Linked DNA regions of Homo sapiens: all the other regions are linked to region 3. The links are contacts of gene promoters, found by promoter capture Hi-C in blood cells and fetal thymus (Javierre and others, 2016). All regions are on one chromosome and are shown on one strand. The core of a region is centred on a gene start or on the middle of the fragment in contact, and the rest is flanking DNA. Distances in the headings are between cores, read along the strand shown.

Region 1 (3,796 bases), core at 1,212-3,711, 1.1 Mb after region 3:
CTCTTGCCCTGTGACATTAGACTCCAAGTTCTTTGGCCTTTGGACTATTAGACTTACACCGGTGGTTGCCAGGGCCCACAACCTGAAGGCTGCACTGTCAGCTTCCCTGCTTTTGAAGCTTTTGGACACAGACTGAGGCACTACTGGCTTTCTTCCTCAGCTTGCAGACAGACTATCATGGCACTTCGCCTTGCGATCGTGTGAGCCAATTCTTTTCAATAAACTCCCTTTCATGTATATATACATCTTATTAGTTCTGTCCCTCTGGAGAACTCTAATACAATAATTTGATCATTGTTGATATTTACTTATTCATTCAGCATTAATTATATGCATTATATCTTTTAAATTCAGCACCAGGCCAACAGGATACAAATATGACTCCGCTCAAAAAGTTCACTATCTAATGACAGACAAAAACTGCTCTTCCGTTCCAGTTATTATCTAATGATGTATAACAAACCAGCTGCAATGTAATACCTTAAAGTAAAAATAATAATTTTAATCTGTATTAGTTGTTAATGCTGCTGTAACAAATAACCACAAACCTAGAGGCTTAAATAATACAAATTTACAATCTGTCTTACAATTCTGTAGAAGTCTGACATTTGTCTCATTGAGCTAATATTAAGACATTAGAAAGGCTGCATTCCTTTCTGGAGGCTCTGGACAGAATCCATTTCCTCGCCCTTTCCAGCTCCTAGAGGTCACTATATTCCTTGGTTAGTGGCCCCTTTTCCCATTTTCTAAGTAAGCAACACTGTGTCTTTCTTGGGTGGTCACATCTTTATTTGCCTACTTCCCTTTTCCACTTGTAAGGGCCTTTGCGACTACATTGGACTCACTCAGATAATCCATATAATCTTCCCATGTTAAGGGGAGCTGGAATCTTAATTCTATCTGCAGCCTTCATTTCCATTTGCTCTGTAACCTAACATAGCCATAGCTTCCAGGAATGAGGATGTAGATACCTTTGGAGGAGACACTATTCTGCCTACTCTATTAGCTCTCACAGTTTGCTTCTCTTCTATCAGACATCAATTTGGTAGAAGCTTGGCTGAGCAGATTTGGCTTAGTGCCTCTTGTGAAACTGCAGTCAGAAAATGGTTTAGCGTGGAATCATCTTGTAAGATTTTCCATCACATATCTGGCCTGGGAGGGCTTGAATAGCTGGGGATAACCCAGCTGAACCTCCCTGGACCTCCCTAAATCTTCTTTATCTCTATGGAGGCTTCCCAGGTGGTCTCTCCAGCGGAAAGACTTCAAGGTAGTGTTTCTTCTTATGTGTCAGTTTAACATTCCCAAAGCACATATCCAGAGAGAGAGAGAAAAAAAAAAAAAGAGAGAGAGATGGAAGACATATTATGATGTAGCCTCTGAAGTTATAAAGCATCACTTGAACTCTTGGTCAAGGTATTTACAAAGATTCACTTAGTTTCAGTGGGAAGCAACATAGATCCTATTCCTTGATGGGGGAGAGAGCATTTCATATTGTAAAGAGAGCATGTGGGCCGGGATATATACGTGTAATACCACCTTCAGATGTGTAACTGAAACATCTGTGAAAGAAACATTAATTGTGCTCTATACAAAATTATTTGGCTGTCACGTAATCTAGCACACCTTTGCTCTTTTTGTAATATTCCATATACTGTGACCTGAACAGAATAGAAAAAACCATTGACTCTTAGATAGATTTTATTCATAATTGGATACACAATGGCTTCTCTTTTCTTTTTTTTTGAAATGGAGTCTTGCTCTGTAGCCCAGGCTGGAATGCAGTGGCATGATCTTGGCTCACTGCAACCTCCATCTCCCAGGTTCAAGCGATTCTCCTGCCTCAGCCTCCCAAGTATCTGGCACTACAGGCGCCCACCACCACAGCCGGCTGATTTTTGTATTTTTGGTAGAGATAGGGTTTTACCATATTGGCTTCTCTTTTTCTAGCCACCTCACTACTATGAGTTTAATATTTAAGGAAATGCAGAAGGCAGTTCGTCATGTACTAGGCCATCCCATACCATCTCTAGTCCTACACATAAGCAATTGATTTTTAGAATAAAGATTATTACTTAAATCTTATTTTCGGTTAATTAAATTTTTATTCATTTATCCAGATCCTGAAGTTCTATTTATAATCATTTTTATCTGTAAAAAAAATCACATATAACTTAAATATGATAAATATTTTTATATCTTCTTTTATTAAAATATTGAGGAAGAAAAAGTCAAGATTATAGCCTGAGACAAAATCCTAGAAGCAACCCCTCTCCAGGTTATTTCACTGTTTTCATTGATCAAACAGTTAAACATTAAACTAGGAATGACCAATCCACCCAATTCACCTTAAAAGCAACACATATTTCTCATTATTGGCTAGAATATCATGAAAGACCATTTAAAACACCTTTCTGTTGCCTCTGCATACTGTGCTTACAAAATGTTTCTTGTATTAGTAAAACAGAAATCATGTAAAATATGAAAACATTTGATTTTTTTTAACTGAACTTCGGTGTGTCTAATGAAAACTACCTAGTTATGTTTTTCAGCAGAAAGCCAATGGGCCATATATACAATTGTTCTTCCTGATATTTCAGTTCACTTTAACTTTATTATTTGTAAAATCCACTGTTTTTTTCCTGTATGAGTGAGAAATAACACTTTCCTAATACAGGCCTCCAGGGCATTTCCCACCCTCAAACATTGCTCAAAAGAAGTCTGAAAATCCCCCTTTACTTCAGCGTATAATGTAATTTATTTATAGAATTAAAATTAGATTACATGTTAATAGTCATAGTTTCTTTTACAAGTTCACCAGTTTTTCTTATATTTATTCTGCAAATATTTATGATTACTCCATTTTCCATTACTAATAAATGCTCTCTTGGGCATCTTATCAGCTGTGCTTGAATGGGAAAGCCATGGGCTAGAAAAAGCCCACATTTTTCCCTCATTAGCAGTTTCTCTCTCTCTCTCTCTCATTCTTTCTGCCCTCTCTCTCTCTGCATGTGTGTGTGCTTGTGTACATGGGTGTATGTATGTGTTTAATGAATGAGTTTCTAATTTTTATTTAATTAAAAAAATTTTTTTACAGACAAGGTCTCACTCTGTCACCCAGACCGGCATACAGTGGCACAATCATAACTCACTGCAACTTTGAAATCCTAGACTTAAGCCCATCCTCCCACCCTGGCCTCCTGAGTAGCTGGGGCAGCAGGTATGCCCCATGATGCCCAGTTGATTTTTGTTTTTGTCTTTTTTTCACAGAAATGAGGTCTTGCTATGTTGCCTAGGCTGGTCTCAAACACCTGGCTTCAAAAGATTCCCCTGCCTTGGCCTCCTTAAGTGCTATGATTACAGACATGAGCCACCATGTCTGTCCCATTATTTCTTAATTACCTTTAGTGTGTGTGAAGAATGCTCCTAGGTACTGGGAACATGGTCATGAGCAGACAGACAGTATTTTTGCTCCAGAAAGGGCTTACTTTCTAAAAGGAAATGGGATAAAGATATAATAAACAAAATATTCTTGAAAGAGAATATGTTATTTGAGTAAAAGAGGTAAGTAAATGTGCAGAAGCATGATGGAAGGTGTGATGGGAACCGGGATGGGATGCATTTGCATGGTCAGGGAAGAACTCATTAAAGCGGTGGTAGGAGAACAGAACATAAAAAAGTTGTCATCTGTGGTCTCTGACCCAACTACGCTGCTTCCTCTTCTTCTGTGCCCTGATTCTGTCTACCTGTGATGAGATGAGGTGCTGCAGAACTCCATCCCACAACCAGGAGAGAAGTA
Region 2 (4,198 bases), core at 900-3,399, 1.1 Mb after region 3:
ACTCCGGAGGCTGAGGCAGGAGAATCGCTTGAACCCAGGAGGCAGAGTTTGCAGTAAGCTGAGATTGTGCCATTGCACTCCAGCCTGGGGAAGAGAGCAAGACTCTGTCTAAAAGAAAAAATTCCATTGGGCAAGTTCCTTAGTCTTGAAAAGCATGTTTTCTCCAAGTAAACTTGTAGCATAATGTACATTGCTGGCATCATGCCATGACTCTTGTGTCATACAATTCCAAGGGCTACCTATAACCCTGGATTCTATGTTAGTGGTACCCATGGCATTCAACTCATATAAATCACATTGTGAATAGTAGGCCATGGAGTTGTGGCTCTAAATGCTGGGCACAGAGAAGGTATTTGATTATGATAACTGTTTGTTTCTTCATGTTTTCATAGGCTTTTATTTGAGGGGGTGAGTAGCTATTATCCTTTTTATCATTGGTGGAAGTAGAATTCTAATGGGGTTACACTGATATCTTCTATGCAAATAAAAAAGTTGGCTAAAGTTTTCTGCCATCAAGCGTCAGTTGGGAATTTTTTTTATTGTGTCCCAATTGTTTTCAAGTTAATCACGATAATAGCTAATACTTATACAACACTTAATGTGCACCAGGTGCTGTTTTAAGATATTGATGTATAATAATTCAAGAGCTACATAGTGTTATTATTTCCACTTCTTAGACTGAGAGAAACACAAAGGGGTTAATTAACTTTTCCAGAATCACAGAGAATGTGAGGGTTTGAGACACTATTTGAACAGCTGATCCAACCCCAACATGTTTTCCCTTAAGCATAGAAGTTAAACTGCTTCCGAAATATTTTTCTTGCTATCTCTATTCCCCTTTGCGAGCCTTTTGTTGATATAAGTTTGTGTTTAAAATTTGGCTGTTAAGGAACCAAGCAAATTGATAGGTTTCTCTGAAATAATTAATAAGCGGGTTATTCTATCCACACTAACATGTTTATATTAATATGATTAAGGAATATAACAATTAATATATGATAAATATTTCATGAGATTAAATTTAATCATTTAAAAGTTGAACATAGAAAAACGAACATAACCTCAGGCTTTCACATTTATGTTTATGTTTCTGTAACTACCTAAGTGTTTTTATAAACAGAATGTATTTTTTATATGTGCCTCTAAAATCTAGTCTAATCATATGACAATCTCCTACCAATATGATGTCTGAACTCTTAGTAGTGGAATATCTTTGCTTTCAAAGTTTGCTTTTATGACCTGTAAGAGAGCATTTTGAGGAGAAGCAAATTTGGTGCAGAAGGAATCACTTGCCCTTTTGTAACCCAGAGAAAATAATCAGGAAAGGCTCACAGTGGGCTACTCTCCAGAACCTGAAGAAGAGTCAGCTCCTACTCCCATCTCTCAGCGTTGGCATGCTTGAGTTGTGCTCTGTTTTGGAGAAAGGAGGTTTGAGGAGAAGAGTGAGATAGGAACCTGACCTCTGTGCAGTATTCAATTTCTTGAGCTCTAGTGGAGCCTTTTAAAAGAAAAGTGTCAAAGTCAGAAAGGAAAGAAACGCTGCATAAGAAATCTCCAAGAGCTTGAGCATAAACAGGTTGCCTTTGTGTCCAGATTAAAACAGCTATATTAAGTTAGGACCGAAACCACTCGTCCCAATGCAGCCTAAAATTAAGATCTGCTCTGGAACTTTGAAAATGGGGGCTTTGGGAATATCTGTTTAGAACAGTCTTAGGCTAGACACTGAGGTTCACATTCTGATGGCACATTGCATTGGAAATGATGGTGCCCAGGAGTGATTTCCAGGACATTATATTTTGACAAGGAGGAATTCAAAACAAGAGAGGAAGGCATCATGGATGATTATGGAATGTTCTGTGAAAGCAAGTGAAGCATGTGTTTGACAGATTCACAGACATAGTTGAGGACTGGTAAGTCACAGACTACTATGAAGTCTTGTTTTCTTCTCTAATAGCAGAACTTTGATTTGTGGAGTCCTGCTGCTATCCAGAATAAAAGATTATATTCCTTATCCTCCTTGAAGCTAAGTGTGGCCACATCACTAAATTCTGGAAAATAAAATCTAGAGAGATAAGATTTATGAGACATCTGGAAATGCTATAAAAGGAATTCATTTATTTAATAGAAGATTTTTGAAATTTATTCTTTTGGCCTGAGAAATAAACATGAGGATAGGAGCTTCAGCAGCCGTGTTGAAACATGGGGTGACTTTCAGAATGGAAGTCAAATACTGACTCTGAGAAGAAACTCAGGTTCCCAGGTCTCCTATTAGTGTAATGTATTTGACCTATTTTTCTTGAACTACCTATCCCTGGGATACAGAATACATGAGGAATAAGTATTCTTTTACACAAGTGAGTAGATATAATCTTTACTGATGCTTTGCTATAAGGGGGATGCTGGAATTCCTAATGCAACAGTTGGAGAAGAAAGAATCAATCAGATCAATAAAATATGTTTTGTATCCACAGCCCGAGGAAGCACACTAGTTTTTTGACTATGAGTTTTATAAACAATAATTAGAGTACAAATCACAAAACCAGCTTGAAGGCAAGAGTTATTCAATAATCATGCAAACAATAATAACCAAGAATCTTCTATAAGCAATGTCTGTGTAAACATGGCAGGCTTATTTAAGGAATAGGTAAAACTTGGTGCCTGCTCCCAGAAATATACTTCTGTGCAGAAGAAGCGTATGAATATTAAGAAAAATTTAATAAGTGATTTTAAACAATTTTTTGGGGGGACAGAGTCTCACTCTGTTGCCCGGGCTGGAGTGCCGTGGTGCAATCTCAGCTCACTGCAGCTTCCACCTCCCAGGTTCAAGCAATTCTCCTGCCTCAGCCTCCCAGGTAGCTGGGATTACAGGAACATGCCACCACGCCCAGCTAATTTTTGTATTCTTAGTAGAGACGGGGTTTTGCTATGTTGGCCAGGCTGGTCTTAAACTCCTGACCTCAGGTGATCCACACGCCTCGGCTTCCCAAAGTGCTGGGATTACAGGTGTGAGCCACCATGCCCAGCCTAAAACAATTTTTAAGTGCTATAAATATACAGAGAAAGAATTTAGCATTTTAATAATTGAATATTTCAAGTTTTGAGACATATGCTGAAAATCTCCTATATATAAATGCAGAGCGTGTAATGGCTTGTCTTCCTGATTCTATTAGTCAGTCATTGACATATATATATATGTAAAGGGTTGGCTCATGGGATGATGGAGGCAAGCTGGAGACCCAGGAGAGCCTCTGCTGTAGTTCCAGCCTGAAAACTGGCAGTTTCAAGATGCAAGAAGAGGCTATGTTTCGGTTTGAGTTTGAAGGCAGGAAAAAAAATGATGTACCAGCTAAGTAGTCAGGCAGGAAGAATTTCCACTTACTTAGCTTTTTGTTCTCTTTACATATTCAGTTTGACTGGGGGAGGCCCACCCACAGGAGGGAGGGCAATCTGCTTTACTCATTGTACTGATTCAAATGTTCTTCTCGTACAGAAACGTTCTCACAGGCACCCCAGGACAACGTTTGACCAAATACCTGGGCACCCCATGGCCTGGTTAAGTTGACACATGAAATTAACCAACCTTCTGACATTGTCCAGGCTGTGCAGACCCCTGGTTATGCATAAACCAGGATCCCTTAAGAATTCGTGAAACAGGCTGTAATACATGCCTTGGCCTGCTCTGAGGTATGGTTGGTATTGTATAGTCAGTTGATGTAATATCTTTGCATTTACTCTGCAGACTTGCATGATCCATGCTCTTTAGAGTGCATCATTCAGCACTGCTCCTGCCTCCCCATGCCTGCATTTCACATGCACATTTCTTTGTCAATCTCCTTCTCAGCACTTCCAATTGCACAGATCAGTAAGCAGAAAAAGAAGGCAGGGAAATGAAGGAAATCAGGAGACAAGTCAGTCTATAAGGTCAAGAATGATGTTAGAAACTGACATGGGTAGTTTATCACCAGATCACCAGATCCTCAAAACCACCCACAAAGGAAAACTCTAAAGATATTGATCCGGAGCCAAGATAAAGAATGTGATGTATATAGATAAATGATTTATAGGGCTGGGTGTGGTGACTCATGCCTGTAATCCCAGCACTTTGGGAGGTCGAGGTGGGCAGATCACTTGAGGTCAGGAGTTCCAGACCAGCCTAGCCAACATGGCAAAGCCCCGTCTTTACTAAAAAATACAAAAA
Region 3 (4,260 bases), core at 1,122-3,621:
TTTGCTAATTTTTAGATGATTTACATGCCTGGAAGATCACAAGGATAAAAACCCTGAATGCTAAATGAACAAGTAGGCAGCTCCTCTAACAAACTCAGGAAATGTCTTGAGCAGAACATTGCAAATATTCATCTAATTCGATAGGGTAAAAACCTAGAGACTTGCTCATAGAGGTTGAAAGAAAATGTAGCTCAGTGGTTTTCAGCCTGGAGTGATTTTGCCTCCCAGGAGACATTTGGCGATATCTGGGGACATTTTTGGTTGTCACAACTGGTGCTGGTGCTGGTGGTGTGTGTGGAGGGTGGTACTGGCTGCTAGTAGAGGCCAGCAATGAATGCCAGACATCCTACAGTGCATAGGACAGCCTTCCACAACAAAGAAATATCTGGCCCCAAAAGGAGGTGGGAAAACCTGCATCCTCCATTTAGCTTTATAGATGGTGTACTGGTGTGAGGGAAATAAATATTCAAAAGAATAAAATGCTTTAGAAGCAACCTCATTTGTAATTTGCTTCCCTGGTATTTTACTACACTAACTTTTTATTTCACTTTAAATGGCAGAAAGAGAAACAGGAAAAAACAAACAGTTCCCGCTTTTTTCTTACCTTTGGTTTAAATTTGAACATTTCCAGCTGGCATGCATTAATCTAATTTGGTGCTGCCTCCTATGACCTGTAAATGTGTACAGTAGGGTCGTCAAGTGTTTCCACTGCAAAATCGCTAGTGCAGTTGAGTAAATATTGCCACTTTGCTTAATTCAAATATGTACGTTAAAGTTACGATAAGTTAATTTTCCTGTTAAGTGAAAATGCACTTACCTTTACCCAGTTGAATACAGATGTACTTGCCTTTGACGTCTGCCTCCCTAAGTATGGTTACAGTTTGTCACTCCGGTTCTGGAGGGCCACCCTGTCCCTGAATTCACGCCCAGGTCCTGAGGGCAGAACCATCCTGAGGACAACCTGCAGCTCCATCGATTTTTTCTTGGCTGGGACGCAGGCGAGCATGAAAGCGATCCAAACACAGCCAGAGGGCGCCAAAATGCCGCAAATAAAAGTTCCAAAGGCGTCAACTGGCTTTTGCGGGAAGGTAAAATTGGCTTTTGTGTAATCAAAGAGCTACCGTTGTCAACGATGTCACGTTACGTTATTTTTGTATGTCCCTCTTGCCAACAGGTAAGCAAAGTGAACGCATCTTCCTACCCCGGTGGCTATTCTGTGTCCCGGTGCTAAACCAAGTGTCCGCCCCCTTAGGGCACCCGGACAAGCCGCGGTTGGCCCTAGCTTTGACTCGAGCGCTCGCAAGCAGCAGCGTGCGGGCTGCCTCGGCCAACCCCGTCTTCTCAATATTGGTGGCCTCCATTAAAGCACAGACATCAAAAACATCGACGGCCCCTTTCCCCTCTTCTCTTCCCTCCTTCCTCTCCCAAGTTCCGAGAGCATCCTCCGAGGGGCGACGTCTCTCGCCCCACCAGCTGGACCTCGGCGACCGCGCCTCCCCCGAAGCTGCAGCCTTCGGGGCTGAGCCCCGCGGGTGCGGGTGCAGGTGCGGAGCCGCCCAAGGTGCGCAACTCGTTTGCAGCGGCGCAGCCCAGACGCGCCTGCAGCTGGGGCTCACCCCAACCTCGCTGCCAGCCGAGGTAGCGGAATCGTAGTCGACGTCGGGAGCGGGCTGGACTGGGGTCTGAGAAGGGTAGCTGGTGCCAGGGGGTGTCATTCATCACCTCGAGGCAGCTCCCTAAGTCTGAGCGAGAGCCCGAGCACTTCTTATCCAACGGTTCCAAATAAATGAGGGGGAGAGAGAGAGAGAGAGTGAGAGAGAGAGAGAGAGAGAGAGAGTGAGTGAGAGAGTGAGAGAGTGGGAGAAGTCCACGGACAGCCCAGGCGGCGCGGCGGGGGAAGGGGGACGCAGGAATGGAGGAGAGGAGAGGGGAGGCGGAGGGGGGATCTGAATAGAGGGCATTTAGGAAACGTTGGCGGGGCACAGAGTTGGGAGGTGGGGGGAAGGGAGGAACCAGGATGGCGGATAGGAGAGAAATGGGGGTGACTGTGCTGGAGGGGAGGGGAGGTGGGGGCCCAGAGCTGGGGGGAGTCAAGGGGAGGCGGGCGTGTCCAGGCTGGAGGGGAGAGGGGAGGGTCTGCGCCGGAGGAGGGGAGGGGAGCAGAGGGAGTGCAGGGGGTGGGGAGATGGAGCTGGAGGGGGTGGAGGGGAGACGGGCGGGGCGCCGGGCTGGAGGGAGGGGAGAGAGGCGGGCGGGGAGCGCGGGAGGAGGGAGGCTGGGCGGGCGGACGCGCGGGGGGAGGGCACTGGGCAGGAAGGGGAGGGGGAGCGAGCGCGAGAAATGCAGAGGCTGCAGCGGCGGCGGCGGCGGCAGTAGCGGCAGCGGCGACGACGGCGGCGGCAGCGCTCCAACTGGCTCCTCGCTCCGGGCTCCGCCGTCGAGCCGGGAGAGAGCCTCCGCCAGCGGCCAGGCACCAGCCAGACGACGCCAGCGACCCCGGCCTCTCGGCGGCACCGCGCTAACTCAGGGGCTGCATAGGCACCCAGAGCCGGTAAGGAGGCGCGCCCGGTGGCCCCGCGCCGCCGCGGACCCGGGGGCCTCCGTCCCCCACCGCGCCGCGCCCCGCCCCGCAGCCCCCGGGCTCTCCCTTCATGCAGCGGGCAGCAGGGATGTGGGCCCGGATTGGACGGCAAGGGCCTGGGGTCCCTCTGTGAGGGCTCCGTCGCACTTCGGGGATCCCGGGTGATGGGGGGCCCAGAAGTGGGAGGCTTCAGCCGCTCGCATGGTGGAGGGGTGAGGGGGGCGGCGAGGTTGGTAAACGGAGCTGGGGGGAGGGGGCTGTCGGGGAGAGGAGCTGCGGGTGACGGGAGGAATTGCCGAATGCGAAACCCCCTCAGTGCGTTGAGTCCCGGGGAGACGGTTCTGTGGGCTGAAGGGAGCGCTTCCGTCATCGGAGCCCTTACCAGCCTGGGAGAAAGCGCTCGGGGCGAGGGGCGCAGCAGCCAAAGATGGAGGGTGGGGGTGGGGTGGGGCGGGAGTCCGGGGAGAAAGAAGATGGGGAATCTGGCCCGATCAGAAGGAAGTGGGTGGCTTTTTGCTTTGGCAAACGGGTTTTCTCGACCCATGGGACTCCTGGATCTTGGTTCTGGGGCCAAGGAATACGAGGTTCACACGGCGACGTGCACTCAGAAGCACCTCCCGAGCAGATCGGAGCCCCAGCCTCGTCAGTGGCGGAATTGCCTTCCTACGAACCCGTGGGCTGCCTCGGAGCAGTTTGTTTTTTCGAGCCTTTGGTTCCAAGAATGCGCCAGGCGCCTCCGCCCTGGGTCCCGGCCCCGGCCCGGGCCCGGGGGGTGTGGGCTTGAACCTGACAGCGCGCGGCCCTAACTGGGCTCAGCCCCGCTGGGAGCGTAGGGTTGGGGTTGAGCAGCTTTTGCCCAAAGCGCTAAAGCTGAAACCCGGCGCCCGGTTCCTGCTCCCCCCGCCCCCGTCCCCCCTCCATTTCCAGAAAAATAAAAATTGCGGAATCCTGGATCCGATCGCACGCACAATGCGCGGCTGCAAACCGCATTCTTTTCATGAATATTCATCGAACGCTTGGCCAGGCTCCTTATCTGCGTCCCCAGAGACATTTCCGCCTTGAAACGAACTCGGTGGACAGCCCTTGCCCATGTAATTCTCACTCTGCTGAAATTAGCACAGCACACATGGGTGCATTTTTTAGGACCTTGTACAGGTTGACAACACCTCTGTCTCCCCCGCGGCCACTCGCACTGTGGGGCGGGCTAAAACCCAACACTAGCGTCGAAATGGCCTTCTGCTATAGGGTTGTGGACCGACCCCCCACCCCCACCTCCCGGGATTACAGCCCGGGCCAACAGACCCCCAGTATACTGCAGGCAAAATGAATGAATCGGGACTGTAATTACCTATTCCTTTGTCTTGGCCTCGCGCATGCGCCGGAGAGCAGGGTGTGGAGGGCCCGGCAGCCCCATCCCATCTCCATCATCCAGCCACCCACTCCCCTCCCGAGCCGAGGAACAAAGGCGTTTGCCCTAAATGTTGCGGGAAACCCTTGGACACCAATGACAGTTTTTCCCGCCTGTGTGTGTGTTTCTTCTTTTCCAGGCTGTCTCTCATCTTTTGCTTTCTTGCTGATTTCAATTGACCAAAATTAAGATTTGCCTTGATGAGGATGAAGGCAAATTGTGGATTAAATATTTTGTACCCGCACACTGTTATTTTCCTTTCTAGTACTGT
Region 4 (3,965 bases), core at 1,403-3,902, 1.1 Mb after region 3:
ACCTGACCCTGTACAAGGTCAAATGACATTAGGGAGCAACAACTTCTATAATCTCATAAATCACCAAGAAAATGGGCTATTGTGACAAGAGTTTTTGTCAGGAAACCCTTAATATCATCCTGGGATCTTCACTGTGATCAGTATATTCCTCCACCATGCCAAAGAACACCTATAATAGTTGAAGATATAAAAACATTTTTCCAAAAAAATGATTCTATTGTCCTAAATCATTTGCCCAGGTTACTTCATAACTATCTCTTCAATTGAGTTTCAATATTGGCAAAAATTCTTTTGGTTTTCTAATTTATCTTTCTTCCATAAGACACATAATTTATAATTAAACAAAATGTGTCTCTATTAAGTTAAAGTAACGTCTCCATTCCTTCATCACTCTTCACAAAGGTAAATGAAACAATCAACTGCCTCATCTATAAACCATCATTTATATTCCTAATTCTTCCTTCCTGTTGGGCTTGATATACTTTCAACATCTTTTAGGTAAGCCACACGGATAGGTGGTCAATCTAAATGAGTGAAAAATATTCTGTAGCAATCAAGAAGATAAATCAAACCTTGTAAATTTTCCCTACAAATTGGAGCAATATTATGACTTGAACAGTTTATCAAAATTAAGAGCAGTGATTCTTATTCCTAGCTGTCCATTACAAACACCAGGTGTGGGGAGTGGGTAATTTACACATTGAATATTAGGCTTTCTATTAGTCCATTCTCACACTGCCATAAAGAACTACCTGAGACTGGGTAATTTATAAAGAAAAGAAGTTTAATGGACTCACAGTTCCATAGACTGTACAGGAGGGATGGCTGGGGAGGCCTCAGCAAACTTACAGTCATGGCTGAAGGTGAATGAGAAGCAGGCACAATCTTCACATAGTGGAGCAGGAGGAAGAAAGGGTGAGCAAAAGGGGAAGTGCCACACACTTTAAAACAATAGATTTCCTGAGAATGCTCTCATTATCATGAGAACAGCCAAGGGGGAAATCCATCCTCATGATCACATCACCTCCAACCAGGTTTCTCCCCCAACATTGGGAATTACAATTCAACATGACATTTGGGTGGGGACACAGAGATAAACCATATCAGGCTTCAACTGACAATAAATTAGTCAGAAGCCTCAGTACTTGTGCTCAGACTTGGGCTCAGGCTTGGGTGTTTTCTTAAAAAAAATCATTCCAGGTGATTTTAATGTGTAACCATGGCTGAGAACCAGTGAATTAGATAATCATTTTCTAGTGCATTGCTCAATTAAGATAATTATGCCCATAGAGCTTAAGCTATACCTGCTCCACACTTTCCATATCTAACTTTTATACCACCATTCTCTCTCTTCTTAATAAACACATTGTCATTATAAGTCATCACTGCTTTGTCTGTATCTCCAACAATAGGGAAGGGTGTGAAGGAATTTGAAGAGTTTTAATCCATTTTTTACATCTCTAGGGGTAATAAATTTATAGGCTCATGAAATTCTTCTTACTGCTTCTATTGAAGGAAGGGAAGAAGATCTGTTGACATAATGTCTAGGGAGAAACTTTAAGTTAATCTTGACACCCAGAGATACTAATTCTTTTTTTTTTTCCTGTATTTTCTTTTATAGACTTAAAATGACTGCTCTGCAGCCAGGAGTAACTGAAATATTTGGCTTCTTAAAAGTGATGACCTATTTAATGAACAGATGATATAAATATAAGCCATAAGGTTCTTATTAAAATATAAATGGAGGGGTCAATTTCTTAAATGTTTTTAAATATTCAAGGGTTCACAAAGAGGGAATTTTTTAGAACAGAACAGAGATTTCCCTAAAATAAGTTTTATTTTTCTATTAAAATATGCATCAATATCATTATAAGTATGTTTTTCGAGGTTGCCCTTTCCTGCTTTGAATGGTTATGGCAGACTTTGTTTTTCTGTTTATCGCATCTTTAGAGGAATGCCCACATGCCAGAAACAAGTACAACTGAATTTCCTTAACTTGAAATTTCTAAAAAGCAAATAAAATGAAAGAGAATTACAGAGATGAAACAAATTTTATAGAAACTTTTGAATTACATTCGTCCATATTGTTTTATTTTCTGATGTTTTATAGGCTGGGCCTTAGACTAGATCTTTATTTTCATGTCTTGTTCTGACCACATGACATAGTTTAAGGTAGAAACATACACTGTCTGTCAGAGTAAAGCAACACAGAACAATGAGTTCAACGAGTTAATTCACTGGCAATTTGAGTTTTTCCTGATGCTAGTACATGTATGTTCATTCTGTCATTCATAGAGAATCACAGGACAAGTTCTTCCATGGGAAGCAGTTTTATTTTATTGTAGGAAAAAAAGTACTTCAGAAGTAGTTAAGTCCTAGCATAAATAATTATTTATATATATATACTCATATTAGATATTAATTTTAAACAGGTGAAATAGTGAAGTAACAATTATAATGAAAAATCTTATTGTACTGAAAAAACATTGATGTCTACTACATTGGAAGGATTTAAAGCCTTGAAGCATTTTTTTAATCCAACAAACTAAAAATGGAGACTGAGTGAAGATTGCGAATTCACTGAATAATCATTTTGATTCAAATGGTAATGTCACTGAGAAGAAACATTTATTTGACAATCACAAGTGGTATTACCATTTGAATAAAATGATAATTTTATTTTGTTTGCAAAATAGGGTACACATACTATTTATAATTATTTCGTTGTTAAATTTTAAAACTAATTTAATTTCCTGGCCTCTTTCTAAAGTGTGTAGATTAATACCTAATTAGAATTTTAAAAATGAATTATTGGATCTGATGTTTAATGAGATTGTCTGTTGCCATAAGAAATTATAATCTGTTTCACACCTATTTTCTTCTTTTTCAGCTTTTACTTTAGATTCAGGGAGTGCATGTGCAGGTTTGTTACCTGGGTGTGCTGCATGATACTGAAGTTTGGGGTGATCAAATGATCCCATCACCCAGGTAGTGAGCATAGTACTCAACACTTTTTCAACCTTTTCTTCCCTTACTCCCTCCCCTTTCTAGTATTTCCCATTTCTGTTGTTACCATCTTTATGTCCCTGAGTACCCAATATTTAGCTCCCACTTACAAGTGAGAACATGTGGTATTTGTTTTTTTTTTTTTTTTTCCTGTGCTAATTCACTTAGAATAATAGCCTCCAGCTGCATCTATGTTGTTGCAAAGGACATGAATTCATTCTCTTAGAACTGCGTGGTATTCCATGGTGTATATGTACCACATTTTCTTTATACATTTCACCATTTATGGACACCTAGGATGATTTCATGCCTTTGCTATTGTGGAATTGTGTTGCAATGAACATATGACTGCATGTGTCTTTTCGGGAGAATGATTTGCTTTCTTTTGTATATAAACCCAGTAATGCGATTGCTAGGTCAAATGGTAGTTCTAGTTTAAGTTTTTTGAGAAATCTCCAAACTGCTTCCCACAGTGGCTGAATTAATTTGGATTCCCACCAACAATGTGTAAGTGTTCCCCTTTCTCAGCAGCCTCGCCAGCACCTGTTGTGTTTTGACGTTTTAATTGTAGCCATTCTTACTGCTGTGAGATGGTATCTCATTGTGGTTTTCATTTGCATTTCTCTGATGATTAGTGACATAAGCATTTTTTTCATGTTTGTAGGCCACTTTTGTGACTTCTTTTGAGAAATGACTGTTCATGTCTTTTACCCATTTTTAAATGGTTTTTTTTTTTTTTTTTTTTTTTTTTGCTTGTTAAATTCCTTATAGATTATGGATATTAGACCTTTGTCAAATGTATGGTTTGGGAATATATTCTCCCATTCCATAGGTTATCTGTTTACTCTGTTGATAGTTTCACTGGCTGTGCAAAAACTATTTAGTGTCATTAGGTCCCACCTACCAATTTTTGTTTTTGTTGCAATTGCTTTTGAGGACTTAGTCATAAATTCTTTTCT
Region 5 (3,811 bases), core at 1,158-3,657, 1.0 Mb after region 3:
ACACGACATCACAGGACTCAGGAAGGGGCCAAGACATGGGGATATGCAAATAAAACTCTCATTTCTATGGGATAATGGGGGAACAGTCCCTGGGGACAACTAGAAATCTCTTTCTCAAATGTAAATATCCACCAGTAGAAAATTTAAAAGACATAAATTAAAACTGCTCAGTAAAATAAAATGGTCTGTATCCATTTATAAAAGAATAATGTCATGAGAAGTGTTTCACATTTTCTTCTAAATGGGATAAAGAAAAGATATAAAACATTCTGCAAAATAAAAACCCCATATATAAGGAGACGTGTAAATGTAATTTTAGGTTAAGTCAGAATAGTGAGGTTTCATATATAGATATAAGTTCTTTCCATTTTGTAAGAATAAAAATGTGTCTCTTTTATACTGAGGAGAGTGCATGAATGCGTCTTTAATATTTCCACCTCTGCTTTTCCCCAAAATATCTGTTCAACAGACAATATTTTTACCATGAAAATGTAAGCTTATTTTTAACACATTTTTATCATCCTATTTTTTTTCATTCCTTGGCTTAGAGGAGGTAAAATATGAATATTTCATGTTAATTTATTTGGTAATTTTTACATAAAGAACAGTTTATTTGCCTGATCATTTGACATCTATAATTTTGGGCATTATAAACATTATAGAATACTTTTTTCTTCTTAATCTCAATAACATATACATATCCTTTGTGCCAGCCAAAAAAAAAAAAAAAAAAGAATACAATGGAAAAGGAAGAGACATATGGATATCTAAGTGAAATAAATATACCTCAATTAGAGAGATCTTAATTCAATTTTCACTGCTCTGACTACACTGGAAGAAGCTGAAAGATTTCAGGATACATTAATATATTTGTGGAATTCAAAATGCTGTTTGTTTTGAGCTCATATGCATAGCGACTTTAAATCATTTTTTTCTAAGATTGGGAAGGACATGCTATCTCACTAATAGAAATGCAGCATGTGAGATTCCCCTAAGTAATGGATAATTCCCATGCTGTCCAGATGCTTAAGTGAATTTGAGGTCTGTGTTCAGCTTGAAAGCCATTTGGATAGAGAACCCAACCACACACAATTGCCAGCACATTACACAAGGGAAAATGCAGAAAATGAAATTGTTGGTAAAGATAATTGCTGTGAATGCAGACTCTGATAGCAGGAGTCTATGGAATAGCATACCATCTATTGTTAGCCAGTAAATAAAAGATGCTGTGCTTTGGCTTCAATTTGGAAAAAAGTGGTGGTAGGTTAAGATACCTTATTGAGTTGGGTGATGAAAATATAAAGGTTGGTCCTATTAAGGTCACCAATAAATTATAACCCAAGAGAACTGGGTCAGTGAGCAGAATAGTTCCGTGTGGCCAGGGTGCTGATGCTGGTGTTTAGGATAACATCTTTTGGACTGTAGTACAATTGTGCTTCCTCTAAAGGGTCCTTTCATTCATCTGAGAAAAAAAGCAGTGGGGAAGAAAGAATAGCAACATTAAAAATATCTAATACAAACAAAAAAGTGCAAAGAAGAATACACATTTGAAAAATGATATCATAATTCTCAACATGGTGGAAAATAAAGAGATAAAGCATTAAATGCAGAAAATAGAGGTAGTCATAGGTATGATATTCAGAGTATATTCACTCTGAGAATCCCAGCCAAAATGAGTTGGTGTGGAGGTAAAAATAATCTGGCAGAGACGTCTGAAAATAAGGTACAGAAACTTGAAAAAAATCTATTGTAAATCCTGATTGATAAAAACAAATTTAGATTTTACCAAAAAATAAATTAGAAATCTACGTTCAGTTCATATCAACTTTCTGAAGTAAATACTGGTAATTTGGTCAATAGTGAAATACAGAAGCCAACATCACAGCATCCAAAAAAGGATGGATATGAATATAAATGTGTGTAATTGTTACAACCACTAGCTGGAGAAGCAAGTATCTTTTTTTTTTTTTTGCATTTAAAAATTTTATTTATTTATTTATTTATATTATACTTTAAGTTTTAGGGTACATGTCCACAATGTGCAGGTTAGTTACATATGTATACATCTGCCATGCTGGTGTGCTGCACCCACTAACTCGTCATCTAGCATTAGGTATATCTCCCAATGCTATCCCTCCCCCTTCCCCCCACCCCACAACAGTCCCCAGAGTGTGATGTTCCCCTTCCTGTGTCCATGTGTTCTCATTGTTCAATTGCCACCTATGAGTGAGAATATGCAGTGTTTGGTTTTTTGTTCTTGTGACAGTTTACTGAGAATGATGATTTCCAATTTCATCCATGTCCCTACAAAGGACATGAACTCATCATTTTTTATGGCTGCATAGTATTCCATGGTGTATATGTGCCACATTTTCTTAATCCAGTCTATCATTATTGGACATTCCGGTTGGTTCCAAGTTTTTGGTATTGTGAATAGTGCCGCAATAAACATACGTGTGCATGTGTCTTTATAGCAGCATGATTTATAGTCATTTGGGTATATACCCAGTAATGGGATGGCTGGATCAAATGGTATTTCTAGTTCTAGATCCCTGAGGAATCGCCACACTGACTTCTACAATGGTTGAACTCGTTTACAGTCCCACCAACAGTGTAAAAGTGTTCCTATTTCTCCACATCCTCTCCAGCACCTGTTGTTTCCTGACTTTTTAATGATTGCCATTCTAATGGGTGTGAGATGATATCTCATTGTGGTTTTGATTTGTATTTCTCTGATGGCCAGTGATGGTGAGCATTTTTTCATGTGTTTTTTGGCTGCATAAATGTCTTCTTTTGAGAAGTGTCTGTTCATGTCCTTCGCCCACTTTTTGATGGGGTTGTTTTTTTCTTGTAAATTTGTTTGAGTTCATTGTAGATTCTGGATATTAGCCCTTTGTCAGATGAGTAGGTTGTGAAAATTTTCTCCCATTTTGTGGGTTGCTTGTTCACTCTGATGGTAGTTTCTTTTGCTGTGCAGAAGCTCTTTAGTTTAATTAGGTCCCATTTGTCAATTTTGTCTTTTGTTGCCATTGCTTTTGGTGTTTTAGACATGAAGTCCTTGCCCGTGCCTATGTCCTGAATGGTAATGGCTAGGTTTTCTTCTAGGGTTTTTATGTTTTTACGTCTAATGTTTAAGTCTTTAATGCATCTTGAATTAATTTTTGTATAAAGTGTAAGGAAGGGATCCAGTTTCAGCTTTCTACATATGGCTAGCCAGTTTTCCCAGCACCATTTATTAAATAGGGAATCCTTTCCCCATTGCTTGTTTTTCTCAGGTTTGTCAAAGATCAGATAGTTGTAGATACGCGGAGTTATTTCTGAGGGCTCTGTTCTGTTCCATTGATCTATATCTCTGTTTTGGTAGCAGTACCATGCTGTTTTGGTTACTGTAGCCTTGTAGTATAGTTTGAAGTCAGGTAGCGTGATGCCTCCAGCTTTGTTCTTTTGGCTTAGGATTGACTTGGCGATGTGGGCTCTTTTTTGGTTCCATATGAACTTTAAAGTAGTTTTTTCCAATTCTGTGAAGAAAGTCATTGGTAGCTTGATGGGGATGGCATTGAACCTATAAATTACCTTGGGCAGTATGGCCATTTTCACAATATTGATTCTTCCTACCCATGAGCATGGAATGTTCTTCCATTTGTTTGTATCCTCTTTTATTTCATTGAGCAGTGGTTTGTAGTTCTCCTTGAAGAGGTCCTTCACGTCCCTTGTAAGGTGGATTCCTAGGTATATTATTCTCTTTGAAGCAATGGTGAATGGGAGTTCACTCATGATTTGGCTCTCTGTTTGTCTGTTATTGGTGTATAAG
Region 6 (4,261 bases), core at 1,537-4,036, 1.1 Mb after region 3:
TTTATCTTTGTATTAGATTATTAGAATATATACCAGAATTTGGCTGTAATATTATATTTTATCAAAAAGTGGTTAAATTTTGAATATTTGTTAAAATGAACCCAAAATATATAGTGATGCTTGACATAATTTAAAATAAAATATTAAGTTGATAGTTATGCTACTTTAAAAATTGTGTAATTTTGAAATTCTATTGTATGTCACTTCATGGAAATTATTTTTGCTCCAAATATATTTTGAAATATGCAGTCTTACACATGCATTATCTACTTGAAATGAATTTCACCCTGCATGTATTTATTTGTGTGCATGTGTATAAATAACTAATCAAAGTTAGTTTCCCAGATAATGAAGCAACAGCATCCATTATTGTTTTGTTTTTATCTCCCATTGTCTAAGTGTCAAAGAAAGGTCAAAGAAAGTCAGGGATCGAGTTAGGACATAATGCATTCTAGTACTGTAAGAGAAGTTGGTAAAAAGCTCTTATGTTTTTCCCCTAGTTCAGAAACATTAAACAATTTATAAATGATTATCTTTCTGACAAGAAGTGAAATGAAGTGTTTCTCTAGCTTTTAGCTGATTTTCACTTACGTGTATATTATTATATTGCTGATGTTGAAGAGAAAATATTTTCTGTATCTTCTCTAACCTGGATACTCTCCAAAAATGGCAGGCAAACATTTTACAAGTTTATTTCAGGAGGCAAAATACAAATGAAAGAGAAAATAAATGGGCATGCATAAGAATTTCTCTCTTGTGGGAGACTCCTCTGTCTCCCTGAAACTGCTCTGTCCCGGTCCTGGCAATGGGGCAGTGGTCACCAAGCTTCACTTAGGTCTTCTTGCTGTGCAGCTGTTAACACAGTGCTAACTTGTGCTTTAACTTCAAAAGAGACAGACCTTCCCTCTGAGCATGAGAAATAGATACTTCCTCATCTGGAGCAGAATAGCCAGAGTGCAGGAAATCAACTCTTTCTACTTCATTCACAAAATTTGAGTACAAGCACTGTATAAGGGATAGTTTGGGAGCATCCCTTTTCATAGTGTCCGTACCGATACAGATTTGTGTAGATATATAGTACAGATACATATCTGAGGGTAAAAGGAATTGTTTAAAAATCGACACACATCTTTATACATTTTCAGATTCATTACCACATAATGTTAAAATAGGCAACATAATTATGCCTACTTAACTGATAAGAAAACTAAATATCAGATACCTAAGATTATAGAATTTATAAATGGCAAAAGTGGGCTTTGGGGGGACTCATGTAAACGACTTCTCCTATACACACTGTATTGTACACTGATCTATCCTACGACCCTATGATATATACTGATTATATCCTATGATCTTTATAAACACTGTATTTACTTTCTGGCTAAATGGGACATTTCATTAATGCCACTTTCTAAGTCCTGAGCAGATTTGAAATCCCTGGGGAGGGTCCACATGTACTTAGGAGAAATGTTATGTTTCTGGAGTCATGCCCATTAGTGATTGCAGTCACTTATGGAAGCATAATGGTAGTACTTGATGGTGGCACTGATTCTTTTTTTCTCTAAAACAAACATCCAAAGAAACCTTTTAAAAGTTGTAGGATTCCTGTCACTTCTGAAATTACCAGGGGCTATATACATCCATAAAGTACCACAATATTACAACAGTGATGCTGCAGAAATTGTTTCAGATTTTTATTTTATTTTTATTTTTATTTTTATTTTTTGAGACAGGGTCTTGCTCTGTCACACAGGCTGGAGTGCAGAGTGTCGTGGCATGATCACAGCTCTACCTTCCTCGAAGTGACCCTCCCACCTCAGCCTCCTGAGTAGCTGGGACCACAGGGATGCACCACCACATCCAACTCATTTTTGTATTTTTTGTAGAGTCAGAGTTTCACCATGTTGTCCAGGCTTCATGTTCTTGAAGCTAACAAAAACATTTGAATTTGTACATCTAAATCACTTTTATATTTGAAATAACCACTTCCAAAGTTTGAGTTTTAATTTTTTAAGAATCAGTGTAATAAATTCAACTTGCTCATTAAATATATTCCTGTATGTATATTTATTAAATTGAATAAATACATATTTTCAGTAATTTTACTAGTATTTTAGAGACCAAGAGAGAATATCCACCATAATCAGTGATTCTTTTGTTTTCCGAGGTGTGTTTTCTTTCATTTTACTTTGTATATTCTTATGTTTCCAGTTGTGTTTCAATAAAGCAGAAATTTATATTATGTGCACTCTCCAACAGAAATTAATGTATAGCTGGGTGTAGTGGCTCACGCCTGTAATCCCAACACTTTAGGAGGCTGAGGCAGGTGGATCATGAGGTCAAGAGATCGAGATCATCCTGGCCAACATGGTGAAACCTCGTCTCTACTAAAAATACAAAAATTATCTGGGCGTGGTGGTGTGCGCCTGTAGTCCCAGCTACTCAGGAAGCTGAGGCAGGAGAATCGCTTGAACCTGGGAGGCAGAGGTTGCAGTGAGCCAAGATTGTGCCACTGCACTCCAGCCTGGCAACAGAGCGAGACTCCATCTCAAAAAAAAAAAAAAGAAAGAAAGAAAGAAAGAAATTAATGTATAATAATTAGTTGTGGGCAGCATCTGTTTAGAGTTCTCAGGTTCTTGGCAGAAGACAGAGGCTTGGGAAATGACACCTGTGGTCATCGCATGTCCATAATCTTTTAAGTACAAAGGTGTTCATCCACTTTGAACCATAGGGCAGAAAACAGAAAGAGGAAGTTTATGTAGCATTTTCTTGCTTCTTGTTCTCAAGGAGTATGAGTTTATATACCACGTATTTATTTTCTTGTCCAGATAAATTGTAGCACCAGAGAATTTATTGTGTCAGTAGTGTTAAAAGGATATAGGGTCAAGTTACCTGATTTTGGTGTGTATCTCTGGAAGTGCACTCAGGCCACCACAGATGTCAGAGGTGGAGAGTCATTAGCGCAAGCTCTGCAAGGAGGCAGGGACTCCAGCAGAAGACACGAGCCTGCGAACAAAGGCTTTTTAGCAAGCTGAATCTGTTGTCTCCAGGTGTGTTCAGATTAACTGAAGCCCCATAAAGAGTGCATCCTCTTTTATTTCTGTTTTTATAGTATTCAAAGACATTAGCTACTGAAGTAACATCCTGGCTGCGTTATAAATTACTGAAAAAATATGTTCTTTACAGTATTAGAACTTACATAATTAGCATCTGCTTGCAAGAAAAGTCTATCAATTTAGTCAACAATGGCTATTTAACTTCTTTTTAAAATTTTTATAGTTAGCCCAGCACTTTGGAAGCCTGAGGTGGGCGGATCACGAGGTCAGGAGACGGACACCATCCTGGCTAACACGGTGAAACCCCGTCTCTACTAAAAATACAAAAAATTAGCCGGGCGTGGTAGCGGGCGCCTGTAGTCCCAGCTACTCGGGAGGCTGAGGCAGGAGAATGGCGTGAACCAGGGAGGCGGAGCTTGCAGTGAACCGAGATCACGCCACTGCCCTCCAGCCTGGGCGACAGAGCGAGACTCAGTCTCAGAAAAAAAAAAAAAAAAATATATATATATATATATACTATGTCATTCTTATTAACATTTAAGAAACTGGTTTGTCTATTTATCTAATAGGGTTACAAAATATTTCATAAGAACTGGGAAAATGTCATACGTCCAAATACATTATATTACATATATGTACAATTTTATTAAAGTTTATATCTACATAGATATAAACATAGAAAATGCTATCAAATTTTATCCATAGCCATAATATATATTAGAATTAATTGTCATACAATGAATTATTAAAGATGCAGAAATACTTATGCTTATTATAAAATTAATTCAAGCTAAAGCTAAATTATAATTTCACAGGCAATTATTTCAAGATTTGAATCATTTGTAAAATTGGTATATATTTCAGGGACTAATTTAGTTCTTATGAAATAGTATGTTGTAATAAATATTTGTTGGAGAAGTGGATAGGAAGACTTGGGCATTACACTTTGCATGTTAAGCCTAAAATATTTTCATATATTCCTCATAAAATTTAATTACAGTCACTTCATTCTTTTCTACAGAAAAAGTATTTGCTATTCATCAAACTGCTTGAGTGTCTACCACTGGCTTTACTAGTGTTTACACCTTATACTGAATTAGTATACGTTGTGTATTGAGACTGTGATAAAGAATATTAAATTTCCTCTTTTTATTGAATTTTTTAATTGATTTTTTTTTTTTGTTAGAGATAGAGGCTCACTA
Region 7 (3,879 bases), core at 1,335-3,834, 1.5 Mb after region 3:
TTGATTGTATCTTCAAAAACTCCTTCATAGCTATACCTGGATTAATTTTTGAAAACATAAGTCTGTATGTATAAATCAGGGACAGGAAACTTGATCATCTTAAAATTCTGTATACCGCAAAGTTTCTTTAAGCTAACTGCAACAACTGGAGCATCTATAGATCTTTTAATAATGTAGATTTTTATGCCCCTTTTCTTCATTTTTTGGCATATTGTGCATTTTCAGACCTGCTTAGTTATCTTTGATTGAATACTGTCAATGTAAACATTTATTTGAAAAGACAATAGTATAGGGGCAACAGATCATGATGTTATATCAAATAGTGCTAATGATTTTTCTGTTGCTCATTTTAATATAATCAGTTATATGGATTGAATTGTGTCCCCATCTCCCAAATTTATATGGTTAAGCCCTAACCCCACAATGCCATGGTATTTGGAGATGGGGAATTTAAGAGATAACTAGGTTTAGATAAAATTATGAGGGTGGAGTCCTCAGTATAGGGTTATAAGAATAGACGTAAGAGAGCTTTTTCTATCTCTCTTCCTCAACTATGTAAGGACATAGAGAAGGCTGCCATCCTCAAGCAAGGAAAAATTATCTCACCAGAAACCAATTATGCTGGTATGGTGATCTTAGACTTCTAGCTACAGAAATGTGAGAAAATTAGTTTCTGTTGTTTAAGCCCCCCAGTATATGGTATTTAGTTATGGCAGCCAGACCCAAGAGCTAAGAGCTACAGTGCCTCACTTGTAGTAACATTAGATGTAATCACACTACCTGGGTTCTCAAGAAGCACTCAAAGATTCAATGGAGGTGAAACACCAACATTACTTGGTTTTCATAATGGGTCTGCTAATCTTTTGGGTCAGTTAGTAATACAACAAATACATCTGATTATAATGTTTTCAACAAAACACATTATTTTACATTCACTTTTAGGTTTCATATAGGCCCAATTGTTGCAATGAACATAGATTTATCATTGTCTTTTAATGTCATCATGTAACTCATTGATCTGTGTCCTTTTATTCAACTGTGGAGGTCCTGGCTTTTACCTTAAGGTGATTCTTCTTGAATATGAGACAATATTGAACTTTTAGGCCCTAGTTTAATTTGATCACATTCTAAGAACCTTACTGATTCTATTCTAATTTTGCATTGTTATTGGATTTTTTACTGATGCATTTTGAATATCAGAGATACAGATTTTCATGGCATAATAGAATATATAGTAGGAGCAGGTTTTCCATAATTTCTACCTGAAATAAAATTGGCTACATAGCTCATATCTTGTCATTAACTGAGGATATCATTCCCTAATAGTACATTTTAGCTAATATTTAAATATTTCAGCTCAGTAATATTTAAGAAAAAATTATTTGGGTATATAATTAAAAGAAATGTGTTCACAAACAGTATGAATTTTACATAAAATTATTCAATAGAAAAGTAGAGGAAACTATTCATTGAGATTCTAACAACAATATAAGTGTAATGGAGAATAATACTTGCTTTAATTTTTTTACCAAAAGTAATTTTAAGAAATGAATAAGAAATATTACTATAGAGAAAGGAAAAATGTGCAAGAAAGAAATGAATACATATTTTAAAAATGAATTACCACAGTTTTATTAGTACGAATTTCTTTATTTAATATTAGATTTCTGTCTTTTCTTCATTGGTAAAAAATAAAAGTTAACTTGTAGGCCACATCCTGTGAAATTGCATGAATATATTGTGAGCCAACAAAACTGATGCTGAGACATTCATATTAACAGAAAAATATAGTGAATACCAGATTTTCATTGACAAATAATTTTAATATTTTTTGTTTCCTCACTGTGGTCTTAACATCTTTATTGGAAAATGGATTTTGTTCTTTGCATAACTTTTTTTTCTTTAAAAAAGATCTTTGTTTTTTGCATTGGCAAATGAATTTTAAAATTATTTAATGAAAGCAGTATTGACACATTTATCCTGTACTATATAATTTATGGAAGAATTAACATGCAACCAAATAAATTAGGTAAGGATCTGATTTTAGTTTCACAACAAATACTTTCAACAGAGAAGACCCTAATACTTACCTTATAATGTACCTTATAGGCTGAAGTATACTAGAAAATGAATGAAAACAGAAATATAACCTGACTATTGACATTCATTAGTATGGAGGTAGTTATAAAGTCTAACAAAGTTGTGAGACAATAAGAACATTTTTATAATATTTTTCTTAAACTGATTGCATGGACGTCATTTATGTTTATATCATTTCTTTTATAAATGTTCCAAAGAGGAAAAGTTTTTTTTATAATGCCTATCTTTACACAATGCATAACTTGTTAGATTTCACAGAGTGTGCTTCAGTTTTTCATTTTATGTAGTAAAGTCAAATGATTTGCCATTTATGACTATGTTCTACTCTTTGATTCCCTTAGCATATCTTAACATGTCTAGAGTCCTAGGCCACGGGGTGTGAGGAAGTTGCTAAAAGAAAGGGTGAGTAGGGGAAAAGTCACTTAAGGGATTTCATGTGGGTAATAACCATCCAAATCTGCTTAAAGTCATTTCATTTCAGCTGCTACAGCCCACTAGGATTACTATTACATTAGGGCTTTGTTCTGCTTCTATAACATTGCAATTTAGATACTTTAAACATGTCATTTATTATTATTAATCTTAGGGGAATCATTTATAAAATTGAATTAATTTCAAGTCTGTCTGTCTCCTAGAAGACATCCAAACATTTGATGTATTTTTAAATTATAAAACTATGTTAAAAATAGATGAAATATATAATAGTGTATTATTTGGCAATTATACCCAATAGTCTTCATAAGTATCATGCTCCACACTACAAGAACTTATTTTTCTCACTCTACAAAATCCTAGGAAAACATTTATGACCATTAAAACATCTGCAAATAATGGTCATTTGGTCATTTGGCATTATCTTTGTCTAAAATGATTAAATCCTTGAAATATACAGCCTTAAGAGAGACTGTTTTTTCTTCTTCAAAGGTATATTATTCCATGCCTCCTTTCTGGTTTTTTTTTTTTTTTTTTTTTGAGACAGAGTCTCGCTCTGTCGCCCAGGCTAGAGTGCAGTGGTGCTATCTCGGTTCACTGCAACCTCTGCCTCCCAGGTTCAAGCGATTCTCTTGCCTCAGCCTCCCTAGTAGCTGGGATTACAGGCACATGCCACCACGCCCGGCTAATTTTTGTATTTTTAGTAGAGACGGGGTTTCACTATGTTGGTCAGGCTGGTCTTGAACTGCTGACCTCGTGATCCACCCTTCTCGGCCTCCCAAAGTGCTGTGATTACAGGCGTGAACCACCTCCTTTCTACACTATGCAGTTTCTTCTTCATGGAATACATTCTTTAATCTCCATCCCTAGGAAATTGATTTCAAATAATTCTTAAATATTGCTAAAATATTCCCTCATTTATGAAGACTTCAAATAGTCATTTTATTATACTAATTTACAATTATATTTGCCAGCTTATTGCAATTTTTTTTTTTTTTTTTTTTTTTAAGATGGAGTCTTGTTCTGTCACCCAGGCTGGAATGCAGTGGCACGATCTCGGCTCACTGCAAGCTCCGCCTCCTGAGTTCACGCCATTCTCCTGCCTCAGCCTTCGGAGTAGCTGGGACTACAGGCGCCCGCCATCACGCCCCGACTAATTTTTTATATTTTTGTAATTTTTGTAGAGATGGGTTTTCACCATGTTAGCCAGGATGATCTCGATCTCCTGACCTCGTGATCCGCCCACCTCGGCCTCCAAAAGTGCTGGGATTACGCCCAGCCTGCAATTTTAAAATATAGCAATTTGTATTTACCCATAGCTTAGAACCATGTTTAACCCCTTTTGGA

Evidence for each region. Contacts are between HindIII fragments. The CHiCAGO score rates a contact against its expected background, and 5 or more counts as called.
Region 1: a contact is called between a fragment that was not itself captured here and the fragment with the promoter of BASP1 in region 3, in 11 of 17 cell types (M2 macrophages, M0 macrophages, naive B cells and 8 more). The highest score is 62.6, in M2 macrophages.
Region 2: a contact is called between a fragment that was not itself captured here and the fragment with the promoter of BASP1 in region 3, in 15 of 17 cell types (monocytes, endothelial precursors, naive B cells and 12 more). The highest score is 33.3, in monocytes.
Region 4: a fragment that was not itself captured here is called in contact with the fragment with the promoter of BASP1 in region 3 in 13 of 17 cell types (M2 macrophages, fetal thymus, M0 macrophages and 10 more); the score reaches 52.0 in M2 macrophages.
Region 5: a contact is called between a fragment that was not itself captured here and the fragment with the promoter of BASP1 in region 3, in 2 of 17 cell types (erythroblasts and M2 macrophages). The highest score is 7.3, in erythroblasts.
Region 6: a contact is called between a fragment that was not itself captured here and the fragment with the promoter of BASP1 in region 3, in 4 of 17 cell types (naive B cells, fetal thymus, monocytes and 1 more). The highest score is 7.0, in naive B cells.
Region 7: a fragment that was not itself captured here is called in contact with the fragment with the promoter of BASP1 in region 3 in 1 of 17 cell types (fetal thymus); the score reaches 7.6 in fetal thymus.

The regions. Positions count from the first base shown.
Region 1 is chr5:18,277,105-18,280,900 of GRCh38, forward strand. No RefSeq gene overlaps it. Among named protein-coding and RNA genes, the nearest start is that of LINC02100, 470 kb to the right of the region's middle. The HindIII fragment of the contact is 2,822 bases long and covers 1,051-3,796 here.
Region 2 is chr5:18,318,039-18,322,236 of GRCh38, forward strand. No RefSeq gene overlaps it. Among named protein-coding and RNA genes, the nearest start is that of LINC02100, 430 kb to the right of the region's middle. The HindIII fragment of the contact is 5,269 bases long and covers 1-4,198 here.
Region 3 is chr5:17,215,260-17,219,519 of GRCh38, forward strand. BASP1 (brain abundant membrane attached signal protein 1) reads left to right here and starts at 2,372. Exons shown (of 2, transcript NM_006317.5): 1 at 2,372-2,551. It overlaps BASP1-AS1 (BASP1 antisense RNA 1), which reads right to left and starts at 2,163. Exons shown (of 3, transcript NR_027253.1): 1 at 818-2,163. RefSeq lists silencers at 2,168-2,647, 3,138-3,457 and an enhancer at 3,492-4,260. The HindIII fragment of the contact is 5,505 bases long and covers 1-4,260 here.
Region 4 is chr5:18,298,428-18,302,392 of GRCh38, forward strand. No RefSeq gene overlaps it. Among named protein-coding and RNA genes, the nearest start is that of LINC02100, 450 kb to the right of the region's middle. The HindIII fragment of the contact is 6,425 bases long and covers 1-3,965 here.
Region 5 is chr5:18,257,188-18,260,998 of GRCh38, forward strand. No RefSeq gene overlaps it. Among named protein-coding and RNA genes, the nearest start is that of LINC02223, 450 kb to the left of the region's middle. The HindIII fragment of the contact is 3,826 bases long and covers 495-3,811 here.
Region 6 is chr5:18,337,203-18,341,463 of GRCh38, forward strand. No RefSeq gene overlaps it. Among named protein-coding and RNA genes, the nearest start is that of LINC02100, 410 kb to the right of the region's middle. The HindIII fragment of the contact is 3,927 bases long and covers 824-4,261 here.
Region 7 is chr5:18,693,803-18,697,681 of GRCh38, forward strand. No RefSeq gene overlaps it. Among named protein-coding and RNA genes, the nearest start is that of LINC02100, 50 kb to the right of the region's middle. The HindIII fragment of the contact is 6,270 bases long and covers 1-3,879 here.